6 separate regions of the Homo sapiens genome follow, and regions 1, 2, 4, 5 and 6 are each linked to region 3. The links are contacts of gene promoters, found by promoter capture Hi-C in blood cells and fetal thymus (Javierre and others, 2016). All regions are on one chromosome and are shown on one strand. Each heading gives the region's core, a stretch centred on a gene start or on the middle of the fragment in contact. The rest is flanking DNA. Distances are from core to core; before and after follow the strand shown. Region 1 overlaps HHAT (hedgehog acyltransferase). Region 2 overlaps HHAT (hedgehog acyltransferase). Region 3 holds the start of UTP25 (UTP25 small subunit processome component). Region 4 overlaps HHAT (hedgehog acyltransferase). Region 5 overlaps HHAT (hedgehog acyltransferase). Region 6 overlaps HHAT (hedgehog acyltransferase).

Region 1 (2,785 bases), core at 85-2,584, 560 kb before region 3:
AACCAAATATCCTATGTTCTCACTTATGAGTAGGAGGTAAGCTATGAAGACGCAAAGGCATAAGAATGTATAATGGACTTTGGGGCTTTGGAGGGAAAGGTTGTGGGGGTGAGGAATAAAAGACTACATATTGGCTACAGTATACATTGCTTGGGTGACAGGTACACTAAAATTTCATAAATCACCACTGAAGAATTTATCCATGTAACCAAAAACCACCTGTACCCCGAAAACTACTGAAAGAAAAAAAATCTCTCCCTACAATAATAGACCTATCTTTATGTTTATGATCACTTTTTGCTTTATATATTTTGAAGCAAATAAACTTAGAGTTTTAATATCTTCCTAATAAGAAACGAATTCTTTATTATTAAACAGCAGCCCTCTTTGTCACTAGTAATGCTCTTTGCTATTAATAAAACTGCACCAGTAGTTTGTCAGAGGGAGAGGGGGTTTAATATTTGCCTGGAATATCTTTTCATACCTTTTACTTTCAAATTATGTGTCCTTCTGTTTTAAGGATATCTAGCTAAGAAGAGCCTCTCTGAGCTCTGTTTTGGTTTTTGTTTTCCTCTATTTCTCTTTCTTTTTTTCATCTAGTCTGACAATCTTCATCTTTTTTGAGAATCCACTTATGTTGATTGCAATGACTGACATATTTAAACTTACTTCAACCATTTCTTTTATGCTTTCTCTTTGTCCCACTTTTCCATGTTTCATCTTTACTTTTAAGGATGAAATGTCTAACCAATGAAGCTCATCATATTTTAAAGGGAGAAAAAAAACTAATACTATCTTATTGATCCTATTTTACAGAGGACAACCGCTGTGGTTTGAATGTTTGTCCCCTCCACAACTGGTGCTGAAATTTAATCCCCAATGTGGCAATATTGTGAGGTACAGCCTTTAAGAGGCAATTGGATCATGAGAGCTCTGCCCTCATTAATGGATTAATTCATTCATCAGTTGTATTAGTCTGTTTACACACTGCTATAAAGAACTACCTGAGACTAGGTAAGTTATGAAGAAGAGGTTTAATTAACTCACACTTCCACAGACTTAACAGGAAGCATGACTGGAAGGCCTCAGGAAACTTACAATCATGCCAGAAGGCAAAGGGGAAGCAAACATATCTTACCGTGGCAGAGCAGAAGAGAGAATGAGCAAAGTGGGGAGTGCTAGACTTTCAAACAACGAGATCTCATAAGAACTCTATCAGGAGAACAATAAGGGGGAAGTCTGCCCCCATGATTCAGTCACCTCCCACCAGGCTCCTCCTGCAAGACGTGGGGATTACAATTTGACATGAGATTTGGGTAGGGACACAGAGCCAAACCATGTCATGAATTAATGAGTTATCACGGGAGTGGGACTGGTGGCTTTATAAGAAGAGGAAAAGAGACCTGAGCTATCATGCTCACCACGTGATCTCCTGCACTGCCTCAGGATTGCCGCGATGTCAGCAAGAAGGCCCTCACCAGATGTGGTGACTTGGACTTCCCAGCCTCCATAACTGTATAAATTCCTTTTCTTCATAAATTACTAAATAAGTTCATTTTCTTTATAAAATTACTCAGTTTTATGACTTCCCAGCCTCCATAACTGTATAAATTCCTTTTCTTCATAAATTACTAAATAAGTTCATTTTCTTTATAAAATTACTCAGTTTTATGTATTCTCTTATAAGCAACAAAAATGCACTAAGACCATAAATGAAGATGCAGTGAAAACCTTTGCTCAGGTTAGAAAGCTAATCGAACCAAGGACCAAACATGAGTAATACAATGTCTAGCACTCTTCCACTATGCAATTAACTTAGTACAATCCTCAAAGTACATCATCTTCCCCTCACAGAGGTAAAGAAAAACAGGTATGAAGCTATTTATTTTACATACGGGAAAACTGAGACTTATGGTAATAAGTCATTTACACATGGATGGGAAAACTTTGTTACGAATTAAAATGTTAAATTTCCAGAAGTTTTGAATTCTTGGGGAAAAAAAAACTAAACAGAAATTTGTGGGAGTAAAGAAAACCATTAATGAGGGCTGAGGTAGATATATTTATTACTAGCTTAGGAACAAAAAAAATTATTATTAGGTCTGCTCACAAAGTTAAATGAAATTTTAAAATATACTCAGATCTGACAACATCTAATATTTTGGATTTTGCCAGTTCAGCAGCCACTTGAGTACAAAAAAAAAATCAGTATCATATTCAAGAAGAAGTTAATATGCTGTCGGGATTTCCTATCTTCCAGGGTGAGGAGCAAGCCCAGGAAACGCCAATTTTCAGGAAAGAGTCAGAAACTGGCCCAAGTTAGGTGCGCATCTCTAACCACAGGACATCCTATTTCTGCATCTCACTTTCTGGTCTCAATCTCCAGAGGTTTCTGTTTCTCTTCTACTTCAGTTTTATCACCTGCGGGAACCTCTGAGAATCAAAACATTTTTCCTAGGTTGACTTCCAAATCAGGTTTTGGTTGTGTCTTGCTTTTATTCGGTAAATTTCCAAGCACAGACTTTTTCCTCCATCAGGAATCTATAGCAAGCAAGAAGTATTTATCAGAGGCCTCTGGGCAATACCCTGGCCCCCAGGTGACAGAAAGATCCTCCTGGCAGTATATCAGGTCCCTTGGTAGCTAGACCTGTGAAGAGGGTCTCAATCCTGCCTCACATAAAAGTAGTTTTCAAATAACCACTTTGAAGAATCTCTCATCCTCTAAGCCAGCCCAAGGCAAGAGCAAAATGCTACTGGACTTCCCATCTAAAACAGTGACAGCAGC
Region 2 (2,700 bases), core at 19-2,518, 540 kb before region 3:
AGGCCAGCCTAGCCAGCATGTTGAAAACCTGTCTCTACTAAAAATACAAAAAGTTAGCCAAGTATGATGGCACATGCCTGTAGGCCCTGCTTGGGAGGCTGAGGCACGAGAATCGCTTGAACTTGGGAGGCAGAGGTTACAGTGAACCATGGTTGTGCCACTGCACTCTAACACAGGCAATAGAGTGAGACTCTGTCTCAAAAAAATAAATAAGAAAAAAAAGAAACCCATGATTGGTGATGGAAGGTCAGGTTTGCTTCCTTCTTGTGAACACAAAGAATGCCGGCTCTTTACCCATCAGTACATGACCTTTTGTCTAGTCTCATCCATGCTAGATTTTCTTCCTGACATGTAAATTTGCGGACAGGTAGGAAAAATGTAAGATGTTAGTGATTTCCTGGTGAGAACAGGAATAGGAATTGTAGCTCTCTGCCTAACGTAAAAATAGGATCTGCAGCCAGGTGTGGTGGTTCATGCCTGTAATCCCAGCACTTTGGGAGGCCAAGGCTGGTGGATCACGAGGTCAGGAGATCAAGACCATCCTAACTAATGCGGTGAAACCCCGTCTCTACTACAAATACAAAAACTTAGCTGGGCATGGTGGCACATGCCTGTAGTCCCAGCTACTCGGGAGGCTGAGGCAAGAGAATCGCTTGAACCCGGGAGGCGGAGGTTGCAGTGAGCCAAGATCATGTCACTGCACTCCAGCCTGGGTGACAGAGTGAGACTCCGTCTCCAAAAAAAAAAAAAAAAAAAAATAGCATCTGCAATGTGAATGGATAAACATCAAATTTGCTTATTAATTTTTAGCCACCAGGTACCCTGCTCTGTTCTCTCTCTCTTCTATCTAGTAGTTCATGGGAAATATTATTTGTTTCATTAAAAAGGTCCTTAAAGGCCAGATGCAGTGGCTCACACCTGTAATCCCAGCAATTTGAGAGGCCAAGATGGGTGGATCATGAGGTCAGGAGTTCAAGACCAGCCTGGCCAACATAGTGAAACTCCATCTCTACTAAAAATACAAAAATTAGCCAGGCATGGTGATGGGCACCTGTAATCCCAGGTACTTGGGAGGCTGAGGCAGGAGAATCGCTTGAACCCAGGAGGCAGAGGTTGCAGTGAGCCAAGATCATGCACTGCACTCCAGCCTGGGTGACACAGTGAGACTCTGCATTCAGGAAAAAAAAAAAAAAAAAAAAAAAAAAGTCATTGAAGAAGCTAGGAGAAAATAAGGTGAAGGTAGAATCAAGGGTTTAGCTCTGCAAAACTAACAGATCAAGAGTGTGTGTGTGTATATGTGTATGCAGAGAGAGAAGAGAAAGAAGAGAGAGACAGGGCAAGGCAGGAAAATCAGTCAGAGGGCTCCAGAAAGAGTCCACAGAACAAATGGCACCTGAAACCCTTCAATGACTGACCACTGCCTTCTGGATAAAGTCCAGACTCCGCATATGGCACTTCATGGCCTTTACGATCTATCCCCTCCCTGTCTTGAGTCATTTGCCCTCCTCACAACTCAACCTTCTAGCCAAGCCAAATTTATTTCACTCAAATCCAGGTCGTCAGGCATGCTATACCCTTCACCTACCTTTCCCGTCTCCCAGCCATCACCTCCCTTCAGTCCCTGCCGCTGGGGTTCTCTGCACCCTCTGTCTCTACAAGCCCCAGTGGCTGTTGCACCACCAGCTCACTGTCACATCATCACCTTCCCCCAAACTTCAGAGCCCACTTAGGACAGAGACTGAGCCTGGAATGTCACAGCATCCCTGGCACGTGGCCTGGAAGCTGCTTACACAGCAGGTGTGCATTTAACTCATGTGTTAAATGAGTCAAAATGGAATGTTGTTTTCCTGAAGTATTAAAATGCAGAGGCATTTATAAATAAGCCAAATCTTAAAAATCTTCATGGGCAAAGCATGAGTAGCTAAGAACTGTGTCTTTATAGAAGTACCTCTTTATCTATGTTCATAGTCATTCGTATTCAAGCTCCCGTCTGCCTCTGTCTCTTCTTCCTAAGCCTCCTCACAGGCAATGGAAAGTCCTCTCTGATTTTACTTCTGAAAGAACAGCTTATTTAGAGGTCTGCCCCAATTTCAGAAACCTGTCATGGGAAAATGTGTCCTCAGGAAAGAACAGAATTGATTACTTGTAACACTCTTCATAATGCATTAGGATTTTGAGAGCTCCTTTCAACAGCAGTCCCCCTCTACATGTAAATGTCTCTCTGTAGAACGTTACCTCCTTGCTACAGAGGGAGAATCAGCAATTCTTTTTTTTTTTCTTTCTTTTTTTTGAGACAGAGTTTCACTCTTGTTGCCCAGGCTGGAGTGCAATGGCGCAGGCTTGGCTCACTGCAACCTCCGCCTCCCGGGTTCAAGCGATTCTCCTGCCTCAGCCTCCCAAGTAGTTGGGATTATAGGCACCCGCCACCACATCCAGCTAATTTTTGTATTTTTAGTAGAGACGGAGTTTCACCATGTTGGCCAGACTGGTCGTGGACTCCTGACCTCAGGTGATCCGCCCACCTCGGCCTCCCAAAGTGCTGGGATTACAGGCGTGAGCCACTGTGCCCGACCAAGAATCAGTAATTCTTAATGCTAAAGGAAGGAATTATTCATCCATGGAAGAAAAAAGTAACAATAACCACAGTAACAGGTATTGTGTATCTATTCTGTACTAAGTACAAGCATGCTGGGTGTTTTC
Region 3 (2,700 bases), core at 87-2,586:
CACACAACATATGATGTGACTATAACTAACAATTTATTGTATATTTTCAAATGGCTAGAAGAGCGGATTTTCAATGTTCCCAACGCAAAGAATTGATGTTTGAGATGATGAATATGCTAATTACCCGGATTTGATCATTACACATTGGGTACATGTATTGTTATCAAAATATCACACTGTATCCCACAAATATGTACAATCATTTTATGTAAGTTAAAAATAATTATAAAAACAGGCCAAGCGCGGTGGTTCACGCCTGTAATTCCAGCACTTTGGGAGGCCAAGGCGGGCAGATCACCCGAGGTCAGTAGTTCGAGACCACCCTAGCTAACATGGTGAAACCCCGTCTCAACTAAAAATACAAAAAATTGATCGGGTGTGATGGCGGGCGCCTGTAATCCCAGCTACACGGGAAGCTGAGGCAGGAGAATCGCTTAAGCCCGGGAGACGGAGGTTGCAGTGAGCTGAGATCGCGCCACTGCACTCCAGCCTGGGCGACAAAGCGAGACTCTGTCTTAAAAAAAAAAAATTATATATATACATATATATATGTGTGTCTACAAAAAATTCCTAGATCTCTGACCACACAAAAATCCGCCCCCATAGCTGGGCGCGGTGGCTCACGCCTGTAATCCCAGCACTTTGGGAGGCCGAGGTGGGTGGATCACCTGAGGTCAGGAGTTCAAGACCAGCCTGGCCAACATGGTGAAACCCCATCTCTACTAAAAATACAAAAAATCAGCCGGGCTTGGTGGCGGGCGCCTGTAATCCCAGCTACACGGGAGGCTGAGGCAGGAGCATCGCTTGAACCCGGGAGGAGACAGAGGTTGCAGTGAGCCAAGATCGCGCCATTGCACTCCAGCCTGGGCGACAGAGCGAAACACCGTCTTAAAAAAAAAAAAAAAATCCTCCCCCACACAACGGGCGTGCCTCTTAGCAGGAAATTACAGGCTCAACAAAAAGGCCCGTGAAGCACTCCATCTCCCGGCGGGATGGCGCCAGAATCTCCCCGGCCGAGCACAGCGGGAGCCAGGGAATAGTGGGAAAAGGCCGGAGCAGCACTATCTGGGAGACCAGAGGACCAAACTCGAGGATACATCTCTGGCGACTGGGGAGCCCTGCCACGCCCCTTCAGACCTGTCATAGAAGGGATGCTCCTCGCCGAAATCTCGAAGATGTTTCTTCTGCTTTTTAGTTAGGGTGTTGAGTAGCTGGCTCTGGCTCCGGCTCCCGCGTTTGCCCATAGCGAAAACGTCAAGTTTGCCCACTTGCAAGAGTCGCGGTTTTCCACCAGGAAGTTGTCCAGTCAACACAAGCACGTGGGCTCGCTGACTGCGCTTTACGGCGAAAGCAAGGTGCCATAAAGCAGATCCGCTTTACGTCGCGCTCGTACGACAGGCTTAGAACATCCGGTTCCCGGTTCTGCCCCCTACCGCAGCTCTTTGAAAGCACGGGAGTTCGTTCACTAGTGTTCTCAGAGCCCTAGAACGTGGGCAGCTGGGCTTCCCGGGTTGCGTGAGTCGGGGGCATGAGCTTTGTGCTTGTGTTTTGGTTATGGAAATCAGTCTGCGTAAATGTGTAGTAGCGGAGATAGTCGAATGCAGTGACTTTACAGTATACTGCAATAAAAATATCAACCAACATTTAAGGGTGCCTGAACATCTCACTTCATCACCACAACAGTGTACAGATAGGTCTTGTTAATAAGCCTGGTGTTGCAGATAAGGAAACTGATGCTTAGAAAAGATAACACGCTAGCGGCCGGGCGCGGTGGCTCACGCCTGTAATCTCAACACTTTGGGAGGCCGAGATGGGCGGATCACCTGAGGTCAGGAGTTCGAGACCAGCATGGCCAAACATGGTGAAACCCCGTCTCTACTAAAAGTACAAAAATCAGCCGGGCGTGGTAGCGGGCGCCTGTAATCCCAGCTACTCAGGAGGTGAGGCAGGAGAATCGCTGGAACCCGGGAGGTGGAGGTTGCAATGAGCCGAGATCACTCCACTGCACTCCAGCCTACTCCAGCCTGGGCGACAAAAGCTAGACTCCATCTCGAAAAAAAAAAAAAAGAAGAAAAGAAAAGAAAAGATAACACGCTAGCAAGAGAAGAGAGAAAAACCTTAACTGATGCAACCACATGCTTTTACCCATTAGGGTCTGCCGCCTGTGTGTGTTATATCAATCATGGGGCCCACAAGTCTGAGATTCCCACCCTCACCCTATTCTCGCATTTTCTGAAAGTATTGGAAGAGTCCCCGCAAACAAATCTGTTCCAGCATTCCCCATTTAACAACAGCAGAAACACATCTAGAGAGGTAAAGTGACTTTACTGAAATCACCCCAGTCAATGCTAGAAAAGGCTGTGAAACCCAATCCAGTGTCTCATAACTGAACTCGGACAAAAGGGGATGGAAAAGCTTTTGAAGGTAAAGGAACCATCTTACATTTTGATCATGCTAGTAGTTACACCTTGTATACATAAGAAAAGTTAAACTGTACAGTTAAAATGGGTGAATTTTAATGTATTTAAATAACACCTAAATAAACAGGAAAAAGCAAAAATATAAAAGTAGACTCAGTATTCTAGGGATTTGCAAGTGTGCAGGGCTGCTTGAGACCACAGGATAAAGATGGTGAGATCCTTTTCCTAATAGTAACTTATGCTACCATGTTCTATAGAAACAGAGTGCTTAAATCATAAG
Region 4 (2,700 bases), core at 140-2,639, 520 kb before region 3:
AATCCTGGCAAATTCCATTGTCCGAATGTACCACAGTTTATTAGTCCATTTGCTGCTTAAGGACATCTTGATTGCTTCCAATTTTTAGCAATTATGAATAAAGCTGCTATAAACATCTTTATTTTATGGCTAAAGTTATTTTGTAGATATCAACAAATTGACTCTAAAGTTTATACAGACAGGCAAAAGACCCAGAATAGACAACACAAATAACAGTTAGAAGACTTCTATCCAACTTCAAGACTTAATGTAAAGCTACGGTAATCAAGACATTATGGTATTGGTGTAAGAATAGACACCTCCCATTTTCAATATACTTTATTTTTTAAAAGTAGTTTTAAAGCCAGGCATGGTGGTGCACTCCTGTAGTCCCAGCTACAGGGTGCAGTGGCTCACGCCTGTAATCCCAGCACTTTGGGAGGCTGAGGCAGGAGGATCACCTGAGGTCAGGAGTTTGAGATCAGCCTGGCCAACATGGTGAAACCACGTCTCTACTAAAAATACAAAAATTAGCCAGGCGTGGTGGTGGGCACCTGAAATCTCAGCTACTCAGGAGGCTGAGGTAGGACAATTGCTTGAATCCAGAAGGCAGAGGTTGCAGTGAGCCGAGATGGTACCATTGCTCTAGCCTGGGCGACAAGAGCGAAACTAGGTCTCAAAAAAAAAAAAAAAAAGTTTTAGGTAGCACATAGCCACCAACCTAAAGACTATTTCCCAGCCTCCCAGCTGTGCCCGTGGGACTCAGTGCTGGCCAGTTGGGTGTGAGCAGGAGTGACTAGTGCTCCTTGCCAAACTGCCGCTAAAATAAAGGAGGGCCCCCATTCCCCTTCCTTTGGGCTGGAATGTGACCTGATGATGATTTATCTCCAACACTCAGACAAAGGCAACACTAAAAATGACAGAAGAAGACAAAACGAACCCAGATCTAATATGTCTCAGAGGAGTAATGATGAAAGAGAAATTTAAGAGTTTACTTTGAATTCTGAACGCAAATCCCCTCCACGGCCTTCAATAGCTTTTGAATCAAACCCACCAATTATAGAAGACAAGCCACAGCATCACCTAAAAGACCTAGGTTTAGGGTAGAAAACTCAATGGACTCAGGTCACTGATTCAAACTATCCAAGACATGGGGAAGCAAATCAAGGCCCACATCATCTTGACACTATTGGATCATCTTCTTGAATCTTCCACCTCTGCTCCTTTTTTTGACAGGAGTTTCCTTGTTTGATAGGAGGTCTGAAAAGCTTGGGGCCTTACCTCTGGAGACTTTGTAAACTTCATAGAAGGAATAGAAGTGGAAGCCTAGTGAGGCAAGTAGGTAAAGTGCCAGTTCCCATCGGGGCAGCATGGCTCCTTGGCACGAAGGTTCCCGATGCCTACGCTGAGAGTTTCTGAGAAACAGAGACAAAACTTTAAGCCATGAACATGACACTAGAGAACAGCATCTAAACATCAATTCAGTTAGTTCACACTCCCGGAGACCCATCACTATTCAAGGTGATACAGACATAACCCCAATCAAGCTTCCTCCTCCCTGTGAACTTACTCCATCCTGCATCCAACACACACACACACACACACACACACGCACACATACACCACACATGTGCATCCTGCCTGTCAAAGGGGTCAGGTCTTTTCCTAGGAGTTCCCACAGTCTCCCATCAGAGTATACATCAGACAGTTCTCTACCCATTGCATAATATGCCTGTCTCTTCTGTGGAGTGGACCCTCAGATAGCAGGGACCATGATCTCTGACTCACCAGCCCCTAGCACAGTGCCTGGGATGTAGCAAGAAGGGACTACCAGGTGCTCTGTGAATAATAAATGGCTTCAAAAAGTCTGAAAAGCACAAACAGTATACAAACCTCTAAATCAACAGGTTCACCATCCTTGTTGTCCCTTTCAAGTATCATACTATAGGCCAGGCATGGTGGCTCATGCCTGTAATCCTAACACTTTGGGAGGCCAAGATGGGAGGATCACTTGAGGCCAGGAGTTCGAGACCAGCCTGGGCAACATAGCCAGATCCCCTCTCTAAAAGCAATAATAAAATAAAAACTTAAAATCAGCTGTCTGCCATGCATCTATGCACTTTATTTATGTATTTTTGGAGACAGGGTCTATGTTTCCCAGGCTGATCTTGATTTCCTGGCCTCAAGTGATCCTCCCACCTCAGCCTCCTGAGTAGCTGGGTTTATAGGCACAAGCCACTGTGCCAGGCCTCATCTGTACATTTCTTAAAGGGCAGTTAATGACATAATCACAGACATCTGTGACAGACACTGCTTGTTACCCACCGCCCCTCACTACCCCTTTTCAGAATTCAGTCTCTCTTCTTACACATCAATTAAAATTTCCTCTGGACACCAACACTACACTGTAGCTAAGTGTGGACACCTGAATAGCTCCATTCAAAAGGGTGTGAGTGAAGGGACATGGCTGTGGCCATCTCTTTCTTTCCCTCCCTTTCCTGTTGAACAGAATTGGAACAGCCTCCGTGGATGAAGAGGTGAAAGCCACATGGACAAGACAGAGGCCTCTCAGTCCCCAAATCCAGGTACCACCCCCAAGCCCCAAAGTGCCCCAGACTACTTAGATCTAGACTGTTACAGGAAAGAGAAATGCATTTCTAGGTTGTTTAAGCCTCTCCTATTCTAGATCTCTCCATCATGGCAGCCATGACTATACTCTAA
Region 5 (2,794 bases), core at 241-2,740, 620 kb before region 3:
TAATTTTCAAATTTGCTAGCATTCCAGGGGAAAGCTGTTTGTACATTTTATCTATATATTTATTTAATATGTAGATTCATTATAAAATGTGCCCTCTGCTATTGTCACAGTCCTTGGGGTATGTAAAAAAAAAAAAAAAGATTTACAATGTACCAATTATAAAAGATATGGCCAGGTGCGGTAGCTCATGCCACTGCACTACAGCCTGGGCAACAGAGCAAGACTCCATCTCAAAAAAAATTTTTTTAAAAATAAGATACAAAATAATTTTTTAATCCTTCAGAATAGGAAAGTTGCACTCAGAACATCTTCCCTTTCACAGAAGAAATGTTTGAAAAGCAGGATGTATCCAAGGCTCCAGTGATCTATGCAGATCTTCCATACATTTTCCCCAGTTGGCACCCTTCCCAATAGCTTTAATGGCCATATCCTCACTGTTTCCCACCCCCCCCACCTGAGACGCAGTCTTGCTCTGTCGCCCAGGCTGGAGTGCAGTGGCGCAATCTTGGCTCACTGCAACCTCTGCCTCCCAGGTTGAAGCAATTCTCCTCCCTCAGCCTCCCAAGTAGCTGGAATTACAGGCGTCCACCATCATGCCCCGCTAATTTTTGTAGTTTTAGTAGAGATGGGGTTCACCATGTTGGCCAGGCTGGCTTTGAACTCCTGACCTTGTGATCCAACCACCTCGGCCTCCCAAAGTGCAGGATAACAGGGGTGAGCCACCACGCCAAGCCCATATTCTCACTGTTGAATCCCAAATACGTATCGCTAACTTTGATATTTCCCCCGAATTCCAGAACTGTGGATGCATCCTCCCTCTGGAAATCTCCACTTCCTCTCTGTCCCTGTGGCCCGACACAGCACCTGGCACCCAACATTTAGAGAGCGAATTAGCGAGTAGAAATTTCTTTATGGAGACCTAATGAAACTTTGATGAACTGATGTGAATTAAATGACCATCACTTTTTCAATGATCACAGTTACATTTGAGGAAGGTCAGCACTTACATAACTCACAATCATCTAGCCCGTCTAGCCTCCCTTAATATGCCCTGTGTCACAAAATTAGTAACAGTTTAGGACTGGAACACTCAGCTTCTCTCTCCCAATGAAAAGTAATTCATTACAGCCATGAAGGAGCAGAGGGAGGCTCCCTCTAAACCTGAGGACTCAGGGGAAGCAGCTCAGAAGTGAGATGTTTTGGAGGAATTAACTAGGTAAAGAAAACCTGAAGCAATGGCATAGACAAAGCATGAAGAAATGAACCATCCCAGCGCAGCTGGGGAGGAAAAAGTGTAGACGGGAATGGTGATGCAACTTCAGCGACGGGAAAGGCATGATCAGAAAGGGTCACACTCGTCAGCCACGAAGCACGACTTTATAGAGGAAGACCTGGGAAATCAAATAAGAAAATTATATGATTTATTTTGTGTTTTTGAAAGATTGGTCTGTTTAGAAAAAAAAAAAAAGTAGAGGATGAGCTTTGTTCCTAAGGGGGGAAAAGGCAGAAAAAGGAGCTAGATAGAGAAGACAGAACAGCATGGCCAGAGGCCAGAGTCTGAGTGTCAGACATGGCAGAGGGACCCGGGAGGTCCGACCACCAATTTTAAGCTGCTTGTGGAATTGTCTCCTAAACCTTTATTAAAGTCCTCTAACACACGCTGCATCTAAATGATTTTTGTTGGTGGTTGTGTGTGTCATGCATGGTGTGTGTGTACAAATTAAGAAAAATAGCCAAATGCCACATGAGAGCCAGGGTGATGTTCAGTGGGGACAGTGATATGATCCCCAAACAGAACCAATTCCATGTATGCATGAGGTGAGGGACAGAAGCGGTTCAGGAATAAATGTCTCAGGACAGCACTGAGCCCCGCTCCATCTAGGGAATAGAGAGTCAGGTCCACCTTATCTAGAAATTAAGGGGCTGGGAGACCCTCACTGCTGAAATCCACTGACAATCCAACCTACAGCCTATATATAAAAACATGTTCTACATAAAATCTGAAAACTAGAGTAAGTTGAGAATTTTTTTAATTTCACAGGAAAATTTAATGAAAAACAGTTTAAAGTAAGATTCAGGGAAATCATGAAAGCTGGGATGAGAATGGCTACTTTGGTAGACTCTCTCTCTCTGGTCTAGAAGCAACACCCATCCTGCCTCCTCCAATCTCAATACTTCGTAAATTGCCCTGGAGAGGCTGAATATTAGGCTAATTTGGTCTAATTTGAATTGCTTAAATGACTAGCTATCTTTTACTGCCACCTCCTGGCCCCTTCTAGTATGTCTACCCTAAACTATTACGCTAAGACTGATAAACCCTCATATGCACACACAAAATACCAATTACATTCAAGAATCTCTTAATTGCTGGGTGCAGTGGCTCACGTCTGTAATCCCAACACTTTGGGAAACTGAGGTGTGCAGATCACCTGAGGTCAGGAGTTCAAGACCAGCCTGGCCAACATAGTGAAACCCCGTCTCTACTAAAAATACAAAAATTAGCCAGGCATGGTGGCAGGCGCCTGCAGTCCCAGCTACTCAGGCAGCTGAGCCAGGAGAATCACTTGAACCAGGAAGGCAGAGGTTGCAGTGAGTACTGAGATCGAGCTACCGCATTACAGGCTGAGTGACAGAACGAGACTTCATCTCAAAAAAAAAAAAAAAAGAACCTCTAACCAAATAAACTGTCAAATTAAACTATCACCACATTGCAGATGGAAAGTTATGCTACCGAGTGGGAGTCCCTGATCGAGGCAGCTGGTCATCCAGCCACATCCCCTTCAAGGTGGCTGTA
Region 6 (2,700 bases), core at 102-2,601, 580 kb before region 3:
AGTCAGCGCAACAAGGCTCATGTCTTGATTCCCTTCACTCTATCTGCATTGTAATAGCCTCTCTTTGCCTCTGTTTCCCTGTCTGTAAAGTGGTCATGACAGTATCTCTCTCACAGGTTGTGAGGATTAAACAAGCTAGAATGGCCAGGCACAATGGTGTGTGCCTGTAATCCCAGCACTTTGGGAGGCCGAAGCAAGAGAATCACTTGAGGCCAGGAGTTTGAGACCAGCCTGGGCAACATAGCAAGACCTCATCTCTAGAAAAGTATTTTTAAAAAATTAGCCAGGTGTGGTGATGCATACCTATAGTCCTAGCTACTCAGGAGGCTGAGGTGGGAGGATCACTTGAGCTCGGGAGGCCAAAGCTACAGTGAGCTATGATTGCACCATTGCACTCCAACCTGGGTGTCAGAGTGAGACCATCTCAAACATTTTAAGTTAGAACGTATAAAGCCTGGCTCAGACTAAATGATCACCTAGTATATTTTATTACAATTAGCATGATTCCAGGTGCTCTCTAGAACCAGAGCCCATGCCAAGTACTAAACAAAGCTTCTGGGACATTGACTGCCTTGCACAGCTCTTGCCAGTCCCAGCAACTCTTGGACTGCCCCCATCCCTTTCCTGCAGCAGCTGCCTGGGTCTCTCTTCAAATAGATGGAACCAGCACACTGGCCTCTTCTGAGCCCAAGCATGGCCATGGCCCAGAGTCCCCTGCTGCTGTGCCTGCCTACCAGACTGGATACCCAGGGTCTCACTTCTGACCTAAACTACCCTAGAATTACACTTGCTTTCTGGCCAATCATCACAATAATAAAAGTAAGAGGCCGAGCATGGTGGCTCACACCTGTAACCCCAGCACTTTAGGAGGCCGAGGCGGGCGGATCACCTGAGGTCGGGAGTTCAAGACCAGCCTGGCCAACATGGTAAAACCCCATCTCTACTAAAAATACAAAAATCAGCTGGGTGCGTTGGTGCACGCCTATAATTCCAGCTACTTGGGAGGCTGAGGCACAAGAATCACTTGATACCAGGAGGTGGAGGTTGCGATGAGCTAAAGTTGTGCCACTGCACTCCAGCCTGGGCAACTGAGCCAGACTCTGTCTCAAATAATAATAAGAGTAAGAATTAACACTTTATAGTATTAACCTGTCAAACCACATTACCTATACACAATCATTTAATCCTCACAGCAATCCTGAGGGAGGCACTATTATTCTTCCCATTTCACTGATAAGAAGACTGAGGCATAAGTAAGGTAAGTAACTCAGCAAGCACTCTCAAGCCGAAGCACAGCAGGGATTCAAACCCTGGAGGGTGGGCTCCAGGACCTTTGCTCTCAACCTCCATGCCAAATTCCCTATTTGACCACTGGCTTCTCTAAGGTGGGAGAGCACAGTGCCCAGCAAGGAAGAGTCCCTGGCCCACCACCCTAAGGCTGCTCTTCTCCCCAGTGCCCACACCACACCAGTCAACCTCTTCAAGACGTAGTGGCCCCAGGCTTCAGGCTAAGCAAGTAAACACCATGTCCTTCCCTTCCCTAAGTCCCCCAGGATCCCTGTCTCACCGCTGACTTGGTATCCGAGTTCCACAGAAACGTGAGAGAAAAACAAATCAGGCCCATGTTCCTAAAACTCTAAATGCCACCAGAAATAGCCTTCAAGTTAAGGCACAGAGGCAAATTTTTACCTGTTCGTGACTAATTATGCAAATTTCACATGCTTTACATTGCAGAAGACAACGCTTCTATACCTCCCTCATTTTGTGTATGTAAATTGGGTGGAAGACACATTCTCCAGGTGTATGCCTAAAACTAACATTGTCATTTGATCTTTTGGAGTTTGCAGATACTGGGTGAAGATTTCCCGCTGGGGTTGGTTTCCACAATGGGGCACTGCTGCCCCCTGGTGGTGCAGCGTCATTCTCCTGCTCTACGTTATTTTTATGCATTGACCTGCCAGTCTAAGAACCATGCATTTCAATATTTCCAATCCTTATAGCTGAAGGCATTTCATGCATGCATTCATTCAAGCATTCATTCAGAGCAAATCTTACTTACTAGTTCTTCCAACTAGCTTTCTTTCTCCACCTCCCAGCCTTTTCCTTTTTGGCTTCTCTGAAAGAACCCTTTCACTGCAAGATAAGCTTTTTGGTTTAACCCCCTGCCCCTTTAAAGCCCCCTTCCCCACAGAAGGGAAGTTCCCCACAGCCACCTTCAGCAAGTGCAGAAACCTCCTGGCTTTTTAAATTTGCCCTATATCTTACTGAACATTTATCCTTTTCTAGAATGACTATTCTATGAATACTCCCCCAAACATAGAGGTTTTAATTTGCCCTTTCAAGTTCCCTGCTGTCAGCAATTGCTATTGTTTTAGAAGGGGTTAAAAAAGAAGAGAGAGAGAGGGAAGGAAAAGACATGGATAAAACCCAGAGTGTCTATACCTGGCCCCTACAGGAAGCAACCTGCCCCTTCACTTCCCCAGAATGAGACTCAAGAGAATGAGAACCCTTGGCTAAGGATTTAGGTGGAAGATAATCTTAAAGCGTGCCTCTGTGTGACACAGGACCCTGCTAGAGGCCTCTAATATTCTTACTAGACCCTAAAAGGCACAATTTGAAAAGGGAGGCCAGGCTCAAGCCTGTAATCCTAGCACTTTGGGAGGCTGAGGGCAGATTGCCTGACCTCAGGAGTTAGAGACA

The links. Contacts are between HindIII fragments. The CHiCAGO score rates a contact against its expected background, and 5 or more counts as called.
Region 1: a fragment that was not itself captured here is called in contact with the fragment with the promoter of UTP25 in region 3 in 1 of 17 cell types (total B cells); the score reaches 6.0 in total B cells.
Region 2: a fragment that was not itself captured here is called in contact with the fragment with the promoter of UTP25 in region 3 in 8 of 17 cell types (total CD4 T cells, naive B cells, fetal thymus and 5 more); the score reaches 7.1 in total CD4 T cells.
Region 4: a fragment that was not itself captured here is called in contact with the fragment with the promoter of UTP25 in region 3 in 8 of 17 cell types (naive B cells, total B cells, total CD8 T cells and 5 more); the score reaches 12.7 in naive B cells.
Region 5: a fragment that was not itself captured here is called in contact with the fragment with the promoter of UTP25 in region 3 in 1 of 17 cell types (fetal thymus); the score reaches 6.1 in fetal thymus.
Region 6: a contact is called between a fragment that was not itself captured here and the fragment with the promoter of UTP25 in region 3, in 5 of 17 cell types (naive B cells, fetal thymus, total B cells and 2 more). The highest score is 8.7, in naive B cells.

What each region holds. Positions count from the first base shown.
Region 1 is chr1:210,387,973-210,390,757 of GRCh38, reverse strand. The region is part of intron 4 of HHAT (hedgehog acyltransferase); the gene reads right to left. Among named protein-coding and RNA genes, the nearest start is that of HHAT, 60 kb to the right of the region's middle. The HindIII fragment of the contact is 7,905 bases long and covers 1-2,785 here.
Region 2 is chr1:210,368,669-210,371,368 of GRCh38, reverse strand. The region is part of intron 3 of HHAT (hedgehog acyltransferase); the gene reads right to left. Among named protein-coding and RNA genes, the nearest start is that of HHAT, 41 kb to the right of the region's middle. The HindIII fragment of the contact is 4,942 bases long and covers 1-2,700 here.
Region 3 is chr1:209,826,608-209,829,307 of GRCh38, reverse strand. UTP25 (UTP25 small subunit processome component) reads right to left here and starts at 1,336. Exons shown (of 12, transcript NM_014388.7): 1 at 1,138-1,336. The coding sequence starts at 1,244. RefSeq lists an enhancer at 1,247-1,296. The HindIII fragment of the contact is 3,327 bases long and covers 1-2,417 here.
Region 4 is chr1:210,347,627-210,350,326 of GRCh38, reverse strand. HHAT (hedgehog acyltransferase) reads right to left here. Exons shown (of 12, transcript NM_018194.6): 2 at 1,261-1,394. The coding sequence starts at 1,351. Among named protein-coding and RNA genes, the nearest start is that of HHAT, 20 kb to the right of the region's middle. The HindIII fragment of the contact is 279 bases long and covers 1,250-1,528 here.
Region 5 is chr1:210,447,953-210,450,746 of GRCh38, reverse strand. All of the region lies in intron 7 of HHAT (hedgehog acyltransferase), which reads right to left. Among named protein-coding and RNA genes, the nearest start is that of HHAT, 120 kb to the right of the region's middle. The HindIII fragment of the contact is 3,806 bases long and covers 1-2,794 here.
Region 6 is chr1:210,406,608-210,409,307 of GRCh38, reverse strand. The region is part of intron 6 of HHAT (hedgehog acyltransferase); the gene reads right to left. Among named protein-coding and RNA genes, the nearest start is that of HHAT, 79 kb to the right of the region's middle. The HindIII fragment of the contact is 1,593 bases long and covers 555-2,147 here.